Regions from separate parts of the Homo sapiens genome. Here region 1 is linked to region 2. Evidence: promoter capture Hi-C in human tissues and cell types (Jung and others, 2019). All regions are on one chromosome and are shown on one strand. Each heading gives the region's core, a stretch centred on a gene start or on the middle of the fragment in contact. The rest is flanking DNA. Distances are from core to core; before and after follow the strand shown.

Region 1 (5,589 bases), core at 1,859-4,358, 760 kb before region 2:
AGGATCTGATTTCCTTATCTGTAAAATGGTGATAATCCTTGCAGTTTTGTGAAGATGGCAGATATCTGTAAATGACTGCCCAACATGTTATAGGCACTCAATAAATAAAAATTACTGGGCCGGGTGCAGTGGCTCATGCCTGTAATCCCAGCACTTTGCGAGGCCGAGGCGGGCGAATCACCTGAGGTCAGGAATCCAGACTAGCCTGGCTAACATGGTGAAACCCCGTTTCTACTAAAAATACAAAAAATTAGCCAGGCGTGGTGGCACGCGCCTGTATCCCAGCTATTCCAGAGGCTCAGGCAGGAGAATCGCCTGAACCCGGGAGGAGGAGGTTGCAGTGAGCCGAGATCGTGCCATTGCACCCCAGCTTGGGCAACAAGAGCGAAGCTCTTCTCAAAAAAAGAAAAAGGAAAAGAAAAATGAGGAAAAGCTATACGACCCACTGAATATAAGGGATCTAAACTAGCAGCTAAAGAAATGAACGTGTTTCACAAATATTAAATGTCCCTTAAATAAACAATGGCCTGACCTTAAGTATAGTTTTTCCCTATAGCATGCAAAATTACCTAAAGCTATCAACAATACCCAGAAGGCTGTTAGAAATGCAAACTGGGGCTGGGTGCGGTGGCTCACGCATGTAATCCCAGCACCTTGGAAGGTAGAGGCGCGTGGATTACCTGAGGTCAGTAGTTCAAGACCAGCCTGACCAATATTATGAAACCCCGTCTCTACTAAAAATACAAAAATTAGCTGGGCATGGTGGCGCATGCCTGTAATCCCAGCTACTCAGGAAGCTGAGGCAGGAGAATCGCTTGAACTCGGGAGGCAGAGGTTGCGGTGAGCCGAAATCACGCCACTGCACTCCAACCTGGGCAACAAGAGCGAAACTCCGTCTCAAAAAAAAAAAAAAAAAAAAAAATTAGCTGGGCGTGGTGGCTGGCGGGCGCCTGTAATCCCGGCTACTGGGCAGGCTAAGACAGGAGAATTGCTTGAACCCGGGACGGGGAGGCTGCAGTGAGCCCAGACCGCGCCAGTGCACTCCAGCCTGGGAGACAGAGCGAGACTCCATCTCAAAAAAAAATAAAATAAAATAAAATAAAATAAAATAAAATAAAAAAATAAAGAAATGCAAACTGATAGGCCCCACGTCAGACCCATCCGAATCTCTGGGGATGGGGCCGAGGAGGTTGTGTTTTAACAGACTCTCCAGGTGAAGTCTGAGAAGCCCTGCTCTATGGCAACTTAATTACAGCCGCACAGATTGACAGGTTATTCCAATTCATGGCAGAATAAATGGATGACAGTAAAAAAAAAAAAAAGTCAGCGTTTTTTCCCCCAATGTTCACAGATGTTCATGTTCCTGTCTTAATGCTCTCTAGCCACCCTTTAGCCCCGTTCTTACCAGCTAGATTGTTATAGCAGTCTGTCTGGGTGGTATGCAATATGTTTTCTTGTTCAGGCGTGAGGGCCGGGCCCTGAGGTCCGAGATTAGGTAACGGAGAGGGCAGACTCGGATCCAGACCCCGCAGCTGAAGCAGAGCTCGATGGTACCTACTCACAGCATCTCGGTACTTCCCTTCCCGGTAGCGCTGGTTCCCTTCCTCCTTGTACAGCTGAGCCTCCTGCAGACGCTTCTCCATAACTGTCGCCCACGGTTCTTGCGGAACTGGGAAGTGAAGGAGCAAGTGAAGCTCTGGGGTTGGGAGCAAAATAACTGACAGTAGCAGCCAATTTAAGGAGGCAGGAAATTACCCTTCTTCCTGGAGAGTCCCCCCACAGGGACCTGCGGTTTGCTTGTTTCTACTGAAAGCCCCACCTCTCCTTTCTGCAGTCTTTTTCTCAAGAAGTGCAGGCAAGTAGTAAGGAAAGGGATGTGGGAATAATGAAGCCCAACATTAAGTGACTTCCTAAAGAGGCGATGTGGGGGTGGATGAGACTTTCCGAAGAACTCAAGCAAGGCCCTACTCAGGAATTGTTGCGGGCGTGAGAACGCCTGGGACACTGGCTTCCGCCTTTCTATTGGACCCGCCCCCCCCCGACCTGGAAGTAGAAGGGAGTGGGCGGGACTAGTGCTAAAACTCCAGAGGGCTTCAAGCAATTCTAACTCTTCTTCCTTATTCAACATTTATTTGTTGACGTCAATAAATAAACTGGGAAGCCGAGGTGAACCACCAGCGACACTGAGGTGTCCACATAAGCGTCACAGCTGCAAGCCCACCCGGCGCCGTGACCAGTTCCTCGCCCTCTGCAGATGCCCAAACCTGGAAGTCTCCTGGGCTTCGGTTTACCAGCAGGAGCAAGGAGAGGAAAGGGTCAGAGATGCGTACAGTTTGGTATCTTGAGGGTCGCGCGCATTGCGCCACACCACCCAATCAGAAGAGGCTCCGGAAAAATAATCCCGCAGAAACGACCCCGCCTCCTCAGCGGACCAACCTGGGAAAAAAAAAAAAAAAAAATTCCCCTGGCAGCTTCGCCAATTGGAAAAATCCGGACGATCACGGATGACCAATCGGAACGGCAAATGACGATTCAAGTTGTCCAATAAGAGAAAAAGGGCGGGTTCAAGGGCCTCTGTTGCTGGGTAGAAGTTGAGGCGTTGAGGAAAAAGGAGGGCCCGGATTACAGTATTTCTTCGTTCTGGGGAGCCCTTTTGCTTCCTAGCCAGAAAAACAATTGCTACTAGGCTTACATGTTGCAACACATTCTCTAATGACTTTTTTTTTGTCGTTACTGCTGCAAGCACAGACAGTAGGGAAAAGAGGCTAGCGACCCCTAAAACGCCACAGCAAATGGAAGTCAGACGGAAGTAAGGGTGGTGGGAGGGGCATGGCATCGGGGAGCTCCGGGCGGCTGCGCAGAACTCCCCGGCTGGAAGTACTGAAAGACCGGCGCGCACACGCTTCCGTGCTACGAGGCACTTGAGCTGCAGCCAGCCTTGCCCGTCTTGGACTCCACTGCGGCTGCGCGATAAAAGCACCGGCGGCGATTGGCCCGGGGGCGCCAGAGGGCGGGAGGAAGCGGGAGGAACTCCGTCGTCCTCCGCGCGCGCCTGCCCGCGGCTGGGGAACCAAGGGCCTGGAGGGGAAACAGCTCCCTGCTGCGTTGTTTTGGGCTCCGTGAGCCGAAAGGGGGAGGGGAGACGAAGGAGAAGCAAACACTGCGCAGCGGGACCGTGCGCGGCCTCCGCTCCTGCGTGCGTGCGCTCGCTCGCGCGGGCTCAGTGCTGGCGCGTGAGGCGGAGGCGGGCGGCGGCGGCGGCGCCTGCGCGGTCGGACTCGGTCGACGGTTCGCAGGGGAGGAGGCGGCGGGAGGCGGAGGAGGCGGCGGCGGCGATGGAGGTGAAGCGGCTGAAAGTGACCGAGCTGCGGTCGGAGCTGCAGCGGCGGGGCCTGGACTCGCGCGGCCTCAAGGTGGATCTGGCGCAGCGGCTGCAGGAGGCGCTGGACGCCGAGATGCTCGAGGACGAGGCCGGCGGCGGCGGGGCCGGGCCCGGCGGGGCCTGCAAGGCGGAGCCTCGGCCTGTGGCCGCGTCGGGCGGCGGCCCGGGCGGGGACGAGGAGGAGGACGAAGAGGAGGAGGAGGAGGACGAGGAGGCGCTGCTTGAGGACGAGGACGAGGAGCCACCCCCTGCTCAAGCCTTGGGTCAGGCCGCGCAGCCGCCGCCGGAGCCCCCGGAGGCGGCAGCCATGGAGGCCGCGGCCGAGCCAGATGCTTCCGAGAAGCCGGCGGAGGCCACGGCCGGGTCAGGCGGGGTAAATGGTGGCGAAGAGCAGGGCCTCGGCAAGAGGGAGGAAGACGAACCCGAGGAGCGGAGCGGGGACGAGACGCCGGGATCCGAGGTGCCGGGTGACAAGGCCGCCGAGGAACAGGGTGAGGAGCTGGCAGCCGAGCCCGGCTCCAACCTGCCGGCTGCGCCCCTGATCTAGCACCCCGCCCTGCACCGCAGGGTCCGAGTCCTTGTTCTCGCTTGCCTCAAAGTGCCATTTGATGGAACTCCTTTCATTCTCTACCCACCTTTCTGAGGGGTTAGGCCGCCTCTCGTGGCCCTACTCTTTGCAGGAGGAAGGTTCCTGCCTAACTTGGTTCCTTGGTGATAGTGGATGGCAGTGAGTGATTTTGCATGCGAACTACTTGTGAGCTACCTGTGGAACAGTCTCCCACGGTGCTTGTTATATTTTTCTTAGCTGAGAAAGTGCTAAGCAATTGGGGATTACACGGAGAACTAGGCCCACAGTTAGAGGGTCAGGTCTTTGGGCTACCTGACCTAACTTTTTCGCCGTAAAAATGTTAAGCAAAAATCGAAGTCCGTCAAAGTCCGTTCCATTAAAAGCATGTTACCAGAGCTTGAGCCACAGAGAATCTGAAAATCCAACCTTGCTCCTCTTTGAGCTGTAAGGGAGAGCCTCTAGTGTAACAGTGTCGAGTTTAATAGTTAACCAGTGAAGAGAAAAATCTTAATCTAGTTCATTTAGAGTTAGTTAACGTTACTTGGCTAGGGTTTTTATCTTGCTTGGATTATGATTAAATTTTAATTGTCCCACTGAGTCCGTGGATAGGCATATTTGTAGATTTGCTGAACACCTGGTGCTAGTCTTTTACGTTTCAGGTCCCTCGGTTCCTGAATGGTAATGACTGAGGTGCTGTTGGGTCCGTTGAGTAACCTTGTGGAAGAGGTGTGTTGTAGAATCGCCCCAGGGAGTTAGTGACCTTTCTCCTTTCTTTTGAAGTGATTGGATGGTTAGAACTGATCCATAACAGTGTGTGTCCGAGTAGGGAGGATAAGTCTTACTATAAAGTGGGTGGCCTCAGTTCTTTTGTTAGTAATATTTTTAGGCCACTATGGAGAGTCATGGTATAATCGGAACCCATTGTACAACAATCACATGCAACTTGCAGATTGTTTGTCCTGTGTCCCGGAGCAAAAATCCCATTACATAACCTTTGACTTATGTATATCCCAAAGAGCAGATAAAAAAATAATTGAAGGATAGGCTGGGGGTGGTGGCTCACGCCTGTAATCCTGGCACTTTGGGAGGCCAGGCGGGTGGATCACCTGAGGTCAGGAGTTTGAGACCAGCCTGGTCAACATGGTGAAACCCCTGTCTCTAGTAAAAATACAAAATATTAGCCGGGCGTGATGGCGGGTGCCGGTAATCCCAGCTTCTTGGGAGGCTGAGGCGGGAGAATGGCTTGAACCCGGGAGGCGGAGGTTGCGGTGAGCTGAGATCGCGCCACTACACTCCAGCCTGGGCGACAGAACGAGACTCTGTCTCAAAAAAATATATATTGAAGGATAAAAGACTGCTTTAAAGAAATTATTATTAAAAACCTTCCTAGTGTTGCAAAATACAGAAGCCTAGGGAAAAACTCCAAGTTTTTTCCTCTTGCAGAGAAGTTGCTAAATATACAACAACACCTTTCTGCCCCAAATGTGCAGTCTAGATGCGGTATTATTTATGGATCTCTTGTGACTTAGTGGTTTGCTCTTGCAACTTTCAGTAGAAGTCCCTGATAAAAATACAGCTGTGTATAATGCACTTGAGTCCATTTGCCACATGAATAAAGCCATGGATGGCTGTGTATTTC
Region 2 (5,591 bases), core at 3,045-5,544:
CCACTCCTGGCCCTGGGAGGCGGCTGTCCTGGGAGACCAGCCAAACTCTCTGCTGCCTCCAAGTCACGAGGAGCTGAGCTGGAGGGTGGGGGAGGTAGAACCCTGGTCAACAAAGGTCCCAAGACCAGGCCACAGCTTCGGAAGAATCTAAAGGCTTAGACATTGCAGTTCTGACACCTCAAGTTACCAGAAAGTAGGGAACGGACACAAGCAATCATATAAACAATCATAAACACACACACACACTCACACTCCCCCACCAATAGATTTCCCTTCCATTGTTCCCAGCCAGCCTCCTCCCAATGACCTTCTACAGCACAAGCTGTCCCTCAGTCTTGCTGCGATGTTCACTGCAGCTACATGCATGTTTAGCCAAGCATGGAGCCAACACTGATTCAGGAAACCTACTCCCTGCAGCAGACCGACTTCCCTCCAGTGGGTCCGAGAGCTTCATGCTGGCTTTGTCCCCCTGGACATCCCGGAAGCCTGGAAACTCAGCACATCTAGTCCAAAACCAAGCAGGCCTTCCCCAAGGGCTTTCCCCGAAACCTTCATTTCCTCCTGTGCTCCTTGGCTCAGGGAATGGCAGCAGCAGCCAGGCCTACCAAATCATAAAGCTGAGAGATCTCTTACACACTGCCCACCCCTGGCCCCCGACTTTCGCCAATCAGTCTGTTCATTTGATCTTCTCCAGATCTGTCAAATCTGTGTTCTATCTTCTCTGCTCACTAATAACTAAGGCTGCTGCCTCCTGACTGGTGCCCAGCCCTCTAGCCTCACTCTCATCCATCCTCCACATTCAATCATGAATCCATCTGTTCATGCAACAGATACTGGGCACCAAGTAACAAGCAATTTGCAAAAAGCTGGGAGTGCAGAGACAAGACAGAAACAATGCCTGCCTTCCAGGAGCTTACCATCTACAGCACCAGCGCAGGCAATCAAAAGGGTCTCATAAGGCCAGGTGCGGTGGGTCATGCCTGTAATCCCAGCACTTTGGGAGGCCGAGGCAGGTGGATCACTTGAGGTCAGGAGTTCGAGACCAGCCTGGCCAACATGGTGAAACCCCGTCTCTATTAAAAACACAAAAATCAGCCAGGTGTGGTGGTAGGCACCTGTAGTCCCAGCTACTTGGGAGGCTGTGGCAGGAGGATCTCTTGAACCCGGGAGGTGGAGGTTGCAGTGAGCCGAGATCAAGCCACTGCACTCCAGCCTGGGCAACAAGGGCAAAACTCCATCTCAAAAAAAAAGGTGTGACACATACATAGTACTTCATTAAACATACAAATATATATTATAGTTCCTAATCTTCATCACTTACATGAGCTACAAATATCATCCCAATTTGTCATCTCTGTTTTAACCTTGTTTACAACATCTTTTGTCTTACAGCTTTTCATTTTTAAATAGGCAAACCTGCCAACTGTACTTTTACGGCTTCTGACAGCCTCAGAAGAACATTCCCTACCCCAAAATTATAAAAATAATCTTGTATATATTCTTCTCAAAACTTTATACTTTTTTTAAGGCTTGGATTTTTAATCTATCTGGAATGTATTTTTAAATACTGAGTGAGTCACTTTTCTCCACATGACTGTCAATTGTTTCAACATAATTTGTTAAACCCATTCTTTCTTCCCTAATGTGACACAACAGTTTAGCATATACCAAGTTCTCATAATAGGGGGGCAGGACTATTTTGTTGCATTAATCTAGTCATCTCTTCCTGTGCCAGTACCATACTGCTTATAGCACTTTACTGTACCTTTATTATAGCACCAAATGCAAATCTATCAACACACTGACTCCTCCAAATGAACTTTAGAATCATTTTGTGAAGTTTCAAAAAAAAAAAAAATACTGTCCCAGAGACAGTAATGGCTGAGGAAAAACAAAAACAAAAAACTGCCTCTTATGGAAATTGCAGTGAATTTATGCTTATTTGGGGAAACTGACATCTTTACAGAATGAAGATTGACCGACCATTTGGGAATATGGTACCTCTTCATTTATGCTAGGCTTTTTGAATTTTTTGTCCAGCAGTAAGCATTTATAGTTTTTTCTATATATTTCTTGTTAACTTTATTCCAAGGTACTTTAAGCTTTTGTTGTCAATGTAAGTGAAAAACATTTTTTTTTCCATTCTTTTTTCCCCATATTTTCTAACTGGTGGTTACTGTTATAAAGGAAAGCTTTGGATCCTATATATGGTGACTTTGCTATACTCTTATCCTAAGAGATTCCCAGTGTAAGGTTTCTAAAAACAAAGCTAATGAGGTGTCTCTATGCTGTCTCTAGGATCAAGTTTAACCTCTTTTTATGGAACACAACCCTGCCCGATCTTGCCCCTATTCTCCACCCTAACCAGCATCCCCCAACATAAACTGTACTTTCCAGGCCAACATTCTTTCTTTCTTTCTTTTTTTTTTTTTTTTTTGAGACGGAGTTTTGTTTTGTCTTCCAGGCTGGAGTGCAAAGGCGCGATCTCGGCTCACTGCAACCTCCGCCTCCCAGGTTCAAGCGATTCTCCTGCCTCAGCCTCCAGAATAGCTAGGATTACAGGCGCATGCCACCACGCCCGGCTAATTTTTGTATTTTCAGTAGAGAAGGGTTTAGCCATGTTAGTTAGCCAGGCTGATCTCCAACTCCGACCTCAAGTGATCCGCCCGCCTCGGCCTCCCAAAATGCTGGGATTACAGGCATGAGCCACCGCGCCCAGCCCCAGGCAACATATTTTCTTAAGGCAGCTTTAACAGGCCATGCATTTCCACATTTCCACACCTTTGCATATGCTGTTCACTCTGCTCCAAATTCCCTTCCCTGTTTCTCTCCCGCACTTCACCTTCCTTTTAACTTTTTCTTCAAACTCAGCTCACGTGTCTTGCTTAGGGAGGGCTTCCCCGACCTCCTCCTATCCCAGACTGGGTAAGGTACTCCTGGTCTAGCAGCATCCTTCTGTTTACCTTATTCTTGTAGCTCTAGCACCACTAAAACGTTTTTCCTGTAAATAACATAGGTGCATTTTTAAATGAAACCGTGAACAAGAAATCACCCTAATTCCGTCGGCAATTTATTTTAGTATTTCAGTAGAGTTGCTTTTTTAAACTAAGGTTTGGAAGTCTAGCTTCCAGCTGCAGGTTTGTGAGCATCCTGAAATTCAGTTCTTCCACCGATGCGTCAAAAGACGCGACAGAACAGTGGACCTCGAAGCCAGGACCTAGGTAAGGGCAGGGCCTAGCTCTAGCTCTGCCACCCATAAATTCACATCCACCCTGTGCCTGGGACTCAGCTTAGCCACACACACCGGCCCCACCCCTCCGGGGTCTCTTTCACCTGTCACCCGCCATTAACCCCGTCAGCTTCTCTCCAATGACACCCCAGGGTTGTCCTACAGGGCCACCGAAGCCTGAAGCTCCTGTGAGTGGGGCCGATAAGAGGCCATTTTGAAAAGTCCTCAGCATGGGCTTCGCCTTTAGATCCACGTCGTTTCTCCTTTCTAACCCGAGATGTGTCCCTTGGGTGCGAAGCGACACCAGCGATTCTCTCGGAGGCCCCGGTGGCTCACCCCCACGACTCCCCGGGGAGGCGGTCCCCATCCCTAGGGAAACCCGGCCCGCCCAGCCTTTGTTGCAGAAACCGCACACGGAGCCATATTTGCTTTCAGCCAAAGGCAGACGTGGTCGGAGGAGTCGGAAGGGCAGGGGCGGACCCGAAACCCGCCGTGCGCCCCACTTCTCCATCGCGCTCCTTCCTGGACTCTGAGGAAGAGAAAATGCGCTCGACCACCTAAGGACCGCGTCTCCACCTTCCACCTTCCCAATCATCTGCAGCTTCCCAATCTGCAGCAAGGTGTCACAAGGGCTTCTCCGCAGCTATGATTTCTAACACCATGCCCCGGGCCAGGAGCCTCAGGGTGCCCGTTCGGGAAAATGGGAGCCGAATCAGGATCACCCCATGCGCCCCCGCACCCTTCCCCCGCCGGTTCCAACGCCCGGGCGCCCCTAGACCGGGGGGGGGGTTCTGAGGTGGACTTCCTGCGCCTCCTCGCAGCTTCCCTCCAACTCCACTAAACGGGCACAGAGACGCCACCGCTGTCCCAGAGGCAGTCGGCTACCGGTCCCCGCTCCCGAGCTCCGCCAGAGCGCGCGAGGGCCTCCAGCGGCCGCCCCTCCCCCACAGCAGGGGCGGGGTCCCGCGCCCACCGGAAGGAGCGGGCTCGGGGCGGGCGGCGCTGATTGGCCGGGGCGGGCCTGACGCCGACGCGGCTATAAGAGACCACAAGCGACCCGCAGGGCCAGACGTTCTTCGCCGAGAGTCGTCGGGGTTTCCTGCTTCAACAGTGCTTGGACGGAACCCGGCGCTCGTTCCCCACCCCGGCCGGCCGCCCATAGCCAGCCCTCCGTCACCTCTTCACCGCACCCTCGGACTGCCCCAAGGCCCCCGCCGCCGCTCCAGCGCCGCGCAGCCACCGCCGCCGCCGCCGCCTCTCCTTAGTCGCCGCCATGACGACCGCGTCCACCTCGCAGGTGCGCCAGAACTACCACCAGGACTCAGAGGCCGCCATCAACCGCCAGATCAACCTGGAGCTCTACGCCTCCTACGTTTACCTGTCCATGGTGAGCGCGGGCGGGCCTAAGCGGTGGCGGGGGCCGGGCGCGGTTCCCGGGGCGCGCGCTGGGGCGGGCCGGGGGTGTGGCCACCCGCGGGCTCTCCCGCCTCCCTGCGCCCTTCTGGAAAATGGAGGCTGCTCGAGGTTTCCGAGGACTTCTCTGGCGCAGAAAGTCGGGGCAGCTGGTTCTTCTCGGCTGTACCCTGAGAATGCTCCCTCCTAGGCCAGGGCCGCCTCTGCACACCCTTCTTTTTTAAGGAGACCTTGGTGTCCTGAAATCCTGGGGTTGCAAGACTGCCAGCCTGTGTGATCAATCCTGCGGTTAGGAAGGTGGAGTTTTGCTTTCCCATCTTTTCCTCTGCCTCCGGCATTTGGCCCTAAATGCCAGCGTTTTTTGCTTAGGTATCCAGCTCCCGTCCGCCTGTGTGTGGCGGAGCTGCTGGGTAACGGTGTCGAATAGCAAACCTTGGGGGCTGGCGGGAGGTGGCTTATCTTGTGGGTAGATCCCTCTCGAGCAGCCGTATCCACCTCTCGGCTCTGCTTATCTCTAAGTCCCACTTGCTTTGAAGCATATCTCTAGGAATCGCCCCTTCTGCAGTCACCGAAGTGTCACCTGACCTTGCGCCTAGGGGACCTAATTTATCTTTTATGTATCTTACTGTAAGAGGTGTGGAGTTTGGCCTACTAATTGAACCCCCAGTTCTTGGATAAAGTCCACCGACAGTTACTGGGCAAGAAATTTTTCAGTGATCAGTGGAATCAGTTTTCCCAAATCTTGGTCTTAGGCAGTGTCGTGGGAGTCTTCCTTAGAATTGCCTTGTGATTGTCCAAACTATCCCAAGAATAAATGTGTTCCAAATGGATTTGAAAACAGGCCTGTATTTCTGTGACTGTCACTGCCTTTCACAAACACTTGACTACATCAAATGTCTAAAACTGAAAATCAAATTTTTGTGATATAACTATTATAAAAGTATGTTTA

The links. Contacts are between HindIII fragments. The study calls those that stand out against the background at their distance.
Region 1: the fragment with the promoter of HNRNPUL2-BSCL2 here is called in contact with the fragment with the promoter of FTH1 in region 2 in 1 of the 25 tissues and cell types used here (heart left ventricle).

Annotation. Positions count from the first base shown.
Region 1 is chr11:62,724,903-62,730,491 of GRCh38, reverse strand. It overlaps HNRNPUL2-BSCL2 (HNRNPUL2-BSCL2 readthrough (NMD candidate)), which reads left to right and starts at 3,108. Exons shown (of 24, transcript NR_037946.1): 1 at 3,108-3,873. HNRNPUL2 (heterogeneous nuclear ribonucleoprotein U like 2) reads left to right here and starts at 3,035. Exons shown (of 14, transcript NM_001079559.3): 1 at 3,035-3,873. The coding sequence starts at 3,336. It overlaps TTC9C (tetratricopeptide repeat domain 9C), which reads right to left and starts at 2,006. Exons shown (of 3, transcript NM_173810.4): 1 at 1,406-2,006. The coding sequence starts at 1,643. RefSeq lists enhancers at 1,625-1,734, 2,125-2,324, 2,575-2,624 and silencers at 2,885-3,044, 3,215-3,594. The HindIII fragment of the contact is 23,424 bases long and covers 1-5,589 here.
Region 2 is chr11:61,966,337-61,971,927 of GRCh38, reverse strand. FTH1 (ferritin heavy chain 1) reads left to right here and starts at 4,294. Exons shown (of 4, transcript NM_002032.3): 1 at 4,294-4,616. The coding sequence starts at 4,503. It overlaps LOC399900 (a long non-coding RNA gene), which reads right to left and starts at 4,634. Exons shown (of 1, transcript NR_187560.1): 1 at 3,049-4,634. RefSeq lists enhancers at 1-51, 3,188-3,237, 3,358-3,427, cis regulatory regions at 1-317, 1-322 and silencers at 3,948-4,297, 4,568-4,767. The HindIII fragment of the contact is 11,433 bases long and covers 1-5,591 here.